4 separate regions of the Homo sapiens genome follow, and regions 1, 2 and 4 are each linked to region 3. Evidence: promoter capture Hi-C in 16 types of primary human blood cells and fetal thymus (Javierre and others, 2016). All regions are on one chromosome and are shown on one strand. Each heading gives the region's core, a stretch centred on a gene start or on the middle of the fragment in contact. The rest is flanking DNA. Distances are from core to core; before and after follow the strand shown.

Evidence for each region. The method cuts DNA at HindIII sites, captures the fragments that hold promoters and counts their contacts. A CHiCAGO score of 5 or more calls a contact.
Region 1: a contact is called between a fragment that was not itself captured here and the fragment with the promoter of GTF2IRD1 in region 3, in 1 of 17 cell types (non-activated CD4 T cells). The highest score is 5.0, in non-activated CD4 T cells.
Region 2: the fragment with the promoter of HIP1 here is called in contact with the fragment with the promoter of GTF2IRD1 in region 3 in 2 of 17 cell types (total B cells and neutrophils); the score reaches 6.3 in total B cells.
Region 4: a contact is called between a fragment that was not itself captured here and the fragment with the promoter of GTF2IRD1 in region 3, in 1 of 17 cell types (total CD4 T cells). The highest score is 5.7, in total CD4 T cells.

Annotation. Positions count from the first base shown.
Region 1 is chr7:75,595,476-75,598,175 of GRCh38, forward strand. All of the region lies in intron 2 of HIP1 (huntingtin interacting protein 1), which reads right to left. Among named protein-coding and RNA genes, the nearest start is that of SPDYE5, 100 kb to the left of the region's middle. RefSeq lists enhancers at 1-403, 1,318-1,457. The HindIII fragment of the contact is 1,148 bases long and covers 782-1,929 here.
Region 2 is chr7:75,737,564-75,740,263 of GRCh38, forward strand. It overlaps HIP1 (huntingtin interacting protein 1), which reads right to left and starts at 1,378. Exons shown (of 31, transcript NM_005338.7): 1 at 1,238-1,378. The coding sequence starts at 1,357. RefSeq lists a silencer at 1,166-2,155. The HindIII fragment of the contact is 9,380 bases long and covers 1-2,700 here.
Region 3 is chr7:74,452,412-74,455,155 of GRCh38, forward strand. It overlaps GTF2IRD1 (GTF2I repeat domain containing 1), which reads left to right and starts at 1,495. Exons shown (of 27, transcript NM_005685.4): 1 at 1,495-1,765. RefSeq lists an enhancer at 1-310 and silencers at 1,196-1,545, 2,048-2,117. The HindIII fragment of the contact is 10,217 bases long and covers 1-2,744 here.
Region 4 is chr7:75,635,790-75,638,489 of GRCh38, forward strand. All of the region lies in intron 1 of HIP1 (huntingtin interacting protein 1), which reads right to left. Among named protein-coding and RNA genes, the nearest start is that of HIP1, 100 kb to the right of the region's middle. The HindIII fragment of the contact is 227 bases long and covers 1,288-1,514 here.

The DNA.
Region 1 (2,700 bases), core at 106-2,605, 1.1 Mb after region 3:
GGGATCACAGGCACCCGCCACCATGCCCGGCTAATTTTTGTTTTTTTTAGTAGAGACGGGGTTTCACCATGATGCTCAGGCTGGTCTCGAACTCCTGGCCTCAAGAGATCCACCCACCTTGGCCTCCCAAAGTTCTGGGATTACAGGTGTGAGCCACTGTGCCTGGCCTTGGTGTAGGAGCGATTTCTGAAATAATTCAGAAATAATGCCTTTCTGGCATTCTTTCACATATAAGCATTTTTATGCCCCAAGTATGTGTCAAAGCCTGTAAAATCCATTCAGGGAGAAAAAAAAGAAAATAAGAAAAATAAGACTCAGTCCCCAGCCCTCCAGGAGTGAATACCAAGGTGGCGGGCCAACCTGTTCACCATTTAGGCATCTGTGATAAATGTGTAAGCAGCATTTCTGAAGTCAGACTTCCTAATGCTTATTCAGTTTGTATCTAAGGCAGCTGATAAAAGACCTGATAATAGATAAATGCGCTGGGCATGGTGGCTCACGCCTGTAATTGCAGCACTTTGGGAGGCCCAGCGGGAGGACTGCTTGAGCCTAGCTAGGAGTTCAAGACCAGCCTGGGCCACAGTGAGACCCCATCTCTATAAAAAATTAGCCAGGCATGATGGCATGTGCCTATAGTCCCAGCTACTCAGGAGGCTGAGGTGGGAGGATCACTTGAGCCTAAAAGTTGGAGGCTGCAGTGAGCCTCCAACTGATTGTGTCACTGCACTCCAGCCTGGGTGACAGTGCATGACCCTGCCTCAAAAAAAAAAAAAAAAAAAAAAGCTTTGGGATATCTTTAATTAGGCATTTCAAACCCTACTGTATGGAGTTGATTTTTCAACATTTATTCACCATTTAGAAATTATGAATCAGAGACTCATAGAATGTTAGGGCTGGACTGTTAAATCTTTGAAATCTTTTTCTTTTTGAAACAGAGTTTTGCTCTTGTTGCCCAGGCTGGAGTACAGTGGTACGATCTCGGCTCACTGCAACCTCTGCCTCCCAGGTTCAAGTGATTCTCCTGCCACAGCCTCCCAAGTAGCTGGGATTACAGGTACCTGCCACCACACCTGGCTAATTTTTGTTTTTTCAGTAGGACGGGGTTTTACCATGTTGGCCAGGCTGGTCTCGAACTCCTGACCTCAGGTCATCCATCCGCCTCCACCTTCCAAAGTGCTGGGATTATAGGCATGAGCCACCACACCTGGCCTGAAATCTTCTTTGTCCAACCTTTGATTGAACAGAAAGTGACCTAAGACTCATGGAGGCCCCACTCAAGGTCCCAGAGTGAGCCCGAGAGTTCCAGTGGCAGAATGTCAGAATCTCCTTGCAGGGCCCCTTCCCTCCTCCCAGGGAGCCTCCCGGCAGCATGTGACCTGACCCTGCCGCTGCAGGCCTGGCCTCTCTGCACCCATGTCTTGTCCTGAACAGCACACTGCCTGATGATAACTGTCTCTCCCTTACTCATATCTTTTATCAGATTGATCACAAATTATTCGTAGGTAAGGGTCAGGGCTGAGTCATTTCCTCTGAGAAAATCCACTGGGCCGTTTAAAATAAAGGCTTTTCTTGGTTTGCTTTGAATCATCGCAAGGGTACCAAACGTGATGCAGGAAACCAAGGGGCCTGTGTCTTTCTGGGGAAAAAAAGAGCAAGATCTAGCTAGGCTCGCACAGGGCTGGACTTCTGGGTTACCCCAGAGAGGTTCTGCAGCCGCCATCCTAATTCCAGCCAAAGCATCTTCCCACTAAAGGCAAGCTGCTTTCCCTCTAGCAAACAGCAGTTCATATATCACACTAAGCAATGCTGGGCTTCTCTGGCTATCTAACCTGGAGGGTCGCCTCTAGGGGTTGAGGCTAGAAGGCTTCGGGACAAGCTGCTCTGGCTTGCCTGGCTGTGACACAGTAACCAAGAGCCCAGGTGAGGAGAAGCTTCCCACTGCAGACAGAAGTCCAGCCTCTGAGGCTGGGTGCGGCCTCCGAAGTTGGGCGCGGTGGCTCATGCCTGTAATTCCAGCACTTTGGGAGGCCAAGGCAGGAGGATTGCTTGAGCTCAGGAGTTTGAAACCAGCCTGAGCAACATGGCAAAACCCCGTCTCTACTAAAAATACAAAAATTAGCTAGGGGTAGTGATACACACCTGTGGTCCCAGCTACTTGGGAGGTTGAGGCAGGTGGATCTCTTGAGCCTGGAAGGCGGAGGTTGCGGTGAGCTGAGATCATGCCACTGCACTCCAGCCTAGGCGACAGAGCAAGACTCTGTCTCAAAAAAAAAAAAAAAAAAGTCCCAACTCTGCTTGCCCGGAACTCCACCTTGCTCTGGCCCAGCACACAGAGAGTTAAAAGCTTAGCCACCCCCCTGGCAGACTCTCTCCTTCAGCCTTTGGGGATTAAGCGCTCCAGTTCCTGGATTCTGCAACTCAAAGGCAGATTCCTAGGGATTCATCAGCCAGCATGGTCCTGCACCTCTCTACAAAGCCACAGGCTGCTCCTGGGTGTGGTGGGCTTACAGAGGGCTTTCAAGTCACCCATTCCCTAATCCACTTCAAGGCTCTTGTCTTCTTCCCCCTGGCATAGGTTGAACCTGTTCACGAAGGTAGAGAGCCCCTGCCTCAGTTTAAGGCCAACCAACCTCTGAAGCTAAGACTTTCTTTTTTTCGGCCAGGCATGGTGGCTCATGCCTGTGATCTCAGCACTTTAGG
Region 2 (2,700 bases), core at 128-2,627, 1.3 Mb after region 3:
TCAAACTCCTGACGTCAGGTGATCCACCCGCCTCGGCCTCCCAAAGTGCTGGGATTACAGGTGTGAGGTACCGCGCCCGGCCAAAAGCTCTATTCTTTGAAAGATTCCATATACAGAACCTTCAGTCAGATTCTCACTGTCTTTTCTAACTAAAATCCCAAAGCCCTTTCCCTCCAACTGTGTTTGGGGGAAGTATTCCTCGCATAACACATCAGGGGACCAGCCTCTGGAGAGGGGGACCCAAATGGATCTTCAAAGGTTCCACTCTGAGCACAAGAGTGTAGAAGAAATCTGCCCCTCCAGCATTGGCACTGGGATTAAAAGAAGCGTTGTACTCTTTGAAATGGATTTTACATACAAATGAATTGATGAACACCATCAACATGTCAGCTTAATTCAGCCCAATCAATACACCAGGCATTAAAAACTCGGAGAAAAAAATGGATTGTGGCTTTTTGTTGATGACACTGAGGAATTTTGGCCCCAAGCCCTGGCCAGGCAGGACAAATAGGGCAGTCTGCCTATTAGCTGTCAGGCACATCTTGGGGGATAAAACCAAGACCCCAAGTCAGGGCTCAGGGGCACCATGGTCTCCACTTTAGCCCCCAAAGTAATTTTCCCACAAAGTGGCCACACTTTGCATTTCCTACATTCCTTTTCCCTGCTCCGACCCCTTCCGCCCGGCCTCAGAGCTGACAGCTGGGGCTGGCCAGAGCCAAGCAAGAGGCATCGAGAAAGGGGGATGCTAAGGGGTGGGGGGTGGGAAGGGATGTCAATGCAACCAAGAAGTGATCGGAGGGGAAGAGAGGTCCCCTCACCCTTCACATTCCCAGCCCGGCGCCCCCACTCTCCGCCCCCACACTTGAGCCTCCAAGTGGCTCCCGTGCGCTTCCCTTGTTTAGGGGCAACCCTTCCATTCCGCCCCTTTTCAGTTCCTTCCCCTCTCACCTCATCTTGGGACTCCTGCCCGGTACCCAGCCGATCAGGCTCCTCTTGGCCACGCATCCTGCCATCTCCTCCGAGCCCGCCTCTGCCCTTCTCCCCAGGCCAGCTGGGGTACCCTGGGGTCCCCGACCTTCCTGGGATCGCCCAGATCTGCACGTCAATGCCCCCGCTCACTACACCCTCGCCCCGTCTTCAACTGGGGCCTGCAAGACTCCTACTCCCTTCAAAGCCCCTCCCGGACACCGCGTCCCTCAGGGTGCCCCAGGGATGCCCCGGGGTCCCCCGTCCTCACCTGAGTCCGCTCGAAGCTCTCGCGCTCCGCCGCCTCCAGCCCAGCGCCGACCCCGCGCCGGCTCAGCACCTTGGGCAGTGGGTTGGGCACCTGCTTCATGGAGCTGGCCATCCGATCCATGTCGCCGCGAGGAGCCGAGTCAGGGGCCCTCGGCTGCCCCGGGATCCCCACGGCGCCGCCCGCCCCGCCCTACCCGCGGGGATCCGGCGCTAACGGGACGGCTCCCGCCTGCCATTGGCTGTGAGTTCTGCCAGTCTTCCAGAGACCCCGCCCCTCGCCGAACGGCTTCCCCGCCCGCCCCCGCCCCTTCAGGAGCCCCTCCGCTGGCTCGGCCCCGACTAGCCTCTCGGGGCCTCGAGGCGCGTGGTGACTGGTCTGGAGTCCTGTCAGTCACCGTGGTCCCGCCGTTCTAGGCAGGGCCGGGGCGGGGTGCGGACGGGGCGAGGCCTGGATGGGGCGTGGCCTGGGCGGGCTGCCCTGATATGCCCTCGCTCGCCCCGCCCCCGCCCGCGCACCGCCCTCTCCTCCCCTCGGCCGCAGTCCCCGCGCGCCCCGAGCGTGCTGCCCTCCGCCAAGCGCCGCCCACTACCCTGCCCGCTCCTGCAGGGGGCTATCCCGCGACGGCCCGTGGAGATGGGCGGGGATGACGCGGGCCGGGCAGTGGGGCCTCCCCCGGGGGAATCCCAGCCCGCCTGCGAATAGCCCGTTAGCTCCTTCCGGGCCTGGGACCCGGGAGCGCCGGACTGACCAGCCCTGCGGCCGCAGCCCGGGAAAGCGCAGCCCCGCGGGCGGGGCGCAGCGTGGGCGCCTGGCCGGATCCGGCTCAATGGGTGGCCGCCCCCACCCAGCTCCCAGGCTTCCCCGTCCTGCACTTCTCCATTCTGCCCCTGCCCATGCCCTCTGCAAGGATCGCAGAGCCCAGGTCCCGGAGTTCGGGGCTGAGTCCGCGGGCACCTCCCGGGACCTGCCTCCCAAACCTCATCAAAGGAACCCGTCAGAGCTTATTTGTTGGTAGAAAGCCCTGTAGACACTTTCGGTTTATCTTAGGCTCTGAGCCGCGCGTCCCATCCTGCTCAGACGTCAGCCAGGGTACCAGCAAGCAGAGAGAAGTGTGATGCTTAGCAGGAGTGCTGGAGAAAGTTAAAAGTTTTCCGTTAAACTCCAATTTAGGTGTGTTTTTGTTTTTGTTTTTGTTTGTTTTTTTTTTTTTTTTTGGTTTCATTTGGAGTCAGTCTCCCTCTGTCGCCCAGGCTGGAGTGCAGATCGTAACACACTGGGACCTTGAGCTCCTGGGTCCTAGCGATTTTCCTGCCTCGGCCTCTCGAGTAGCTGGGACTACAGATGCACGCCACCAAGCCTGGCTATCTTTTTTGCAGAGATGGAGTCTTTCTATGTTGCCCAGACTGGTCTCGAACTCGTGGCCTCAAGCAAGCCTCCCACCTTGGCCTCCCAAAGTACTGTGA
Region 3 (2,744 bases), core at 245-2,744:
CAGGGGTGTGGCAAACGGTCCTTATGCACTGAGTCGGTCTCTGAGTGGGGGCCACAGGATGGGCTGAGTCATGAGTCACACAGGTCCAGGTGAGTCAGTCGGTTGCCCGAATGCGAAAGTCTGAAAAACATCTCCAAAGACCAATCTCAGTTTCCACAATAGAGATGCTATCTATAGGAGGAAGTGGGGAACTCACAAATCTTGTGATCTCTCGCCACATGACTCCTGAGCAGTCAGATTATAAAAACGATGCGTAGGTTTTAGCAGCGTCCAGGCCCCTCCCATAATCCTAATCTCACGGCCTTTCGTTAGTTTTACAAAGGTGGTTTTGGTCTCTTGTATAAAAAGCAGGTTAGGTTTAAGGAGTAACTATTATCATCCTTGTTTCAAAGTTGAACTATAAACTAAATTCCTCCCCCGGTTAGCTTGGCCTATGCCCCGGAATGAGTGAAGACAGCCAGCGCGTGAGGCTGGAAGCAAGATGGAGTCAGCCACGCTAAACTTCTGTCACTGTCCTAATCTTTGCAAAGGCAGTTTGGCCAGGAGGCTGTGGGGAGACCTTGTGGGTTTTGCCAGGACCTGGGAGATTCTCGATCTATGTTTGGCTGTCCTTCTAAGCCAGAAGCTCCCTGGGGTTGGGGCCTGCCTGGGGTGAGTCCCTCCCTCCCTGCCATGCCCAGTCTAGCCAAGGTCTAGTTCAGGGATCAGGGCACCACGTGGGGGAAGGACTGTGTTCCTTGTGCTGAATTAGGATTTATGGCTTTGGGGCCGGATGGGAGGCGTGCGCACTGATTCAGTAGGAGCGCTGCTGTGGTGTGTGTGTGGTTGGTGGGAGCGGGGCGGGCGGGGGGCGGGGGGGCTGGTTGGGGGGACAGGGGTAAAAGCCTATCAGAGGGAGGTCCCATCAGACAAGATGGGACCAAGAGTCCAGTTGGCTCTGCTGCGACTTTCGGCCTGTCACTGCCTTCCTGCACATCTCAGGGGTGGGAGGGGGACAAAGGCTGTAAGAGTAAGAGGTACCTGGCCCAAGCCTTAGGACTAGAACCCGGGCCAGGCGGGAGTGACCAGCCGGGACACTCAGGGCCTCCGCGCGTTCCAGCTGGGTGACCTTGACCCTCCAACTTCAGCCCCCTGCGCCCGGCTGCTCTCCCAGTGGTGGTGGGGAGCGGTGGGGGTAGACGGGGGCGCGCCCAGGCTTTTCTAATCCGGCGCTGGTGGGGGAGAACCGAGGGCGCCACCGCCCCTCCCCGCAGGTCCGGGGCCGAGGGGTGCGGCGCGCTCTCCCCACCGCGGTGCCCAGGTCCCCGGGACGCAGGGGCGCTGGGTAGCAAGGGGGGTGCGCAGGGGCGCGGGGCGCGGGGCGGGCTAATCCCGTATGTAAATGGCAGCCAATGGAGGGTGGTGTTGCGCGGGGCTGGGATTAGGGCCGGGGCGAATGGCTGGCAATCTTACTGGGATTACAGAACAAAGAGCCTCCCCGCGCTCCCGCTCTCCGCTCCTCTCCCCGCGCCGCCCCGCCCTCCGCCGCAGCCCGCGCCGGGGGTGGGGGCCGCCGAGCGCCAGCCCCCCGGCCGGCCGATTCCCCCCCCGCGCCCCCTCCCCGCGCCTCCCTCCCCGCCCTCGCCGCGCCGCCGTCCTCGCCTCCCTCTGCCTCTCCTTCCCCCATTCTCCCGGATTAATTAAGGAGGCAGCGGCAGGAGGCTGAGTCCTGGCCGCGGGCCGGGGCCGGGGCGCCGCTGGCAGGAGCGCTTGGGGATCCTCCAAGGTAGGAGAAACTTTTGCGGGGGGCGGGCACCGAGGCCCTTCTCCCCTTCTCCCCCACCCCCGCCCCCGATCCCCTCCGCCTCCGGGGGGGGGGGTCCCCGCCCCTCCCCCTCTCAAGGTGTTACAGGAGCTGGGGCCGGCTTTTGGGTGCCCGGGGAGGCACGTGACTGGGATTATAATTCGGGCCCGGGGGGAGGGGAGGGACGGCCGCCCCCCACCTGCCCGGGAGGGGCCGGGAGCTGGGAGCTGTCACCCCCTCCCTCCTTGCCACCGGCTCTTCTGGAGGTGGGGGGCGTCCCGGGCCGGCGCCCGCAGGCTGCTGCAGTTGGCGAATGAGGTCAGTCGCGCTGCCCGCGGTGGCGGGCGCCGGGGTGGGAGCAGAGGGGGCTGGGAAGGCCGCGGTCCCCGCCTTTCCCCCCTCCACCTTCTCCCGGTCTGGGCCAGCCCCTGGCCCGCGCCCCCAACTCCCAGGCGGAGTCCAGTCCAGCCAGGATTGCCCCAGCAGGGTGGTTCCTGTAGTGGACCCCCCGCCCCGGCCCCGGGGAGGGGGCTGGCCTGTGTGGTGGTGGCCGCTGAATCCCGGGTGGAGGGGACTCAGAAGGTGGCAGTGGGGGGACCACAAAGGGTTCAGAGGAGTAAGTTGGGGATACTCGGTCTGTGGGTGGTCTCTGAGTTCCTGCAGATGGGTGGAGAGGACAGAGGAGGGGCCACAGGGTGCTGAACACCCACCCGCCCCATCCTAAGTACCCTGGGCATGATGGGCTTGACACCTCTCCTGGGCTCCTCACCCCTGGCCAGCAGCCAGGGAGTGAGACCCTGCCTCGCCTGGCGTGGGCCCAGGGAAGGGGGCCGCTGTGCCGCTGAGAGTTCGTTCCACCCTCCTGGCAGTGCTGGAGGGGGCTGGAGCTCTGGCGTCTGGCCTAGTGACCCTACCTCCCAGGACCAAGGTCCTGCGGTGGGAGTCTCCTGTGTCCCCATCC
Region 4 (2,700 bases), core at 151-2,650, 1.2 Mb after region 3:
AGGTGGGTAGATTGCTTGAGCCCAGGAGTTCGACACCAGCCTGGGCAACATGGCAAAACTCCGTCTCTGCAAAAAATACAAAAATTAGCTGGGTGTAGTGGTGTGCGCCTGTAATCCCAGCTACCCAGGAGGCTGAGGTAGGGAGGATCACTTGAACCTGGAAGGCGGACGTTGCAAATGAGCTGAGAATGCGCCACTGCACTCCAGCCTGGGCAACAGAACAAGACCCTGTCTCAAAAAAAAAAAAAAAAAAAAAAAAAATCATGCAGAGGCCAGGTGTGGTGGCTCACGCCTGTAATTCTAGCACTTTGGGAGGCTGAGGTGGGTGGATTGCTTGGGCCCAGGAGTTTGAGACCAGCCTGGCCAACATGGTGAAACTCTGTCTCTACTAAAAATACAAAAATTAGCTGGGCATGGTAGTGCTGGGGGCGCGCGCCTGTAGTCCCAGCTACTAGGGAAGCTGAGGCACGAGAATCGCCTGAACCCGCGAGGCAGAGGGTGCAGTGAGCCGAGACTGCACCACTGCACTCCAGCCTGAGTGACACAGCGAGACTCTGTCTCAAAAAAAAAAAAAAAAATCACGCAGAATCAGGTAAACTATAATCTGCTTTTCCTCACTCTGCGTAAGCAGGAGAAACCTCCAAGGCTGACATTGGACTCTGTCAAGGATGTTCCTGAAAGGCTGCGTTTGAGGTCAAGCCTGCAGCCAAAGGCCCCCAGAGCGAGGACTTCAAACCAGAGATGGGAATTTAATGGCCAGAACAGAAAGTACTTTTGGCCTCTTGCAGGAATGAAAAGCAGACACCAATTCCCCAGGGTGGGTAAGGTTCTCCTTGCTACACAGGCACAGGTCTGTGCTCTTTACAAAGAGCTGCAGACGATTGTTTCTGGATTGGGCGCTTGGCTGCTCAATGATTAATGAGAATCTAATATCACTTTTGTTTGGACCCCAAGCTAAAAGAGGAAAGAGGCAATAGATGCACCTCCCCAGGGCTCAGAATTCTCCAGAGGTTTCCCAGTGCTTACGGGCCAGGGTCAGAATGCCTTGGTTGGCATTCAGGGACTTGCTGGTCTGGCCCCAAACAACCATCTCGATGTTTCCTGATTTCAAACCTCTGTACCAGCCAAATGTCTTCAGCCTCACCCAATGGACTCTGCCCATCCTCTTCCTGCGATTCTCCCAACAGGCAATGCCTACCCCACCCAACCTCCAAGGGCCAACTGAGGTCTTGGTCTTCCTTCTGAACTCTGCACTCCAGTCCCTTCTCAGACCCCCATGGTCCTCAAAGCTTTGGCCTTCTGATCCAGGCCTGTATTGATAGCTAACTGTTGAGTCGGCCTGTATCTCTCTGGATCCTTCACTTTCATGCTAAGGGCCTTGAGAAGCAGGGAGGGAGGCCTTCGATGATGTTTCTTTGTGTTCTTTACCCAGCACTTGCTATAGAAATTATGAGAATTAAATAAATGCTGTTGATTAATGAGGGATGGATGGACAGAGGTCCCTGAGTCCTATAAGCTTGTCCTTGCAGGCCAAGCTTTGCAGGGAACCTGGGTGCAGGGCTGGGAGGATGCTCAAGGGTGATTCGGTTTAGTGGCCATTGGACTAAAGTAGAGTTTCGAAGCTTCAGATCCCTCAACCTCCTAATCATAGCCCAGACAGATGAGTCTTCTGGTCTTGCTCAGACACCTCTAGGAAAGAACTACTGCTTAGTTTTCTACATCTCCACCCCCATAGCTGCAGAGAGGATTTTTTTTTTTTTTTTTTTTTTTTTTTGAGAGGGAGTTCTAATACATGCCCAAAGAAAGCGAGATTTCATGGCAGACAGACAAGGAATGCTGGTCCAACCTCTGGGCACTCACTGCCCAACCATGAACAGGTATTTCTCTCCAAATAAAGATAGGAACCCAAATAAAGACATGAAGCCCCTCAAGCAGCCCCCAACCCCAGGGGCAATGCTCAGTCAGTCTGAGACTGATGCAGGCCATAGAATAGGACTCTCCCCTGTCATCAGCCCCCATCCCATTGTCTCCTAGCCAAGACAGAGTGCCAAAGGCCAGGGCCGGGCAGAGAACCAACCTCCCTTGGTTGCCTCGAAAGGGCACCCTCTGGGGAAAAGTAATATAATTCTGAACAAGATAAACTCAAATTCTAGTACCTCCTCATCTCTATGGCAAGGGCAGACCCAGACCCCCCCCCCCCCCCCACACACACACATACACACACACACACACACACACACACACAGCCCACGACAGCTCCTTTCCTCGAAAGCCCTGATTGCCTCCCCCCTCCCAAGACCCGCCTGACACACAGGCCCTTGAGGGTTGCAAGGCTGGACGGTAGGGACAGTACCCTGGTCTAAACTCGGGGTCAGGGTGATTGAGATGGCAAGGGCACCCTTAAATCTCCATTCAGAGTGACAGCCAATCAAGACCCCTGGGAAAACCTGCAGTTTCCGGGCCTCCAGGTGCTCCCTGCGAACCCCCCTCCCATCAGAATCCCCCAAATCACATCCTGGTACCGGCTGAAGGCTGCTCCTTGGTCTCAATCAATAAGCAATGATTTCTTCAAGATCCTACTGTATTCGCGGTGGAGGTGGGGGTGGAGGGCTTCTCTGGGGGAGGGCACAGACCCCTCCAGAGGAGCCCATTTCTAAAGGAAAGGCGGAGTCATGCTTAGGAGGCGAAGGTGTTGGCTGC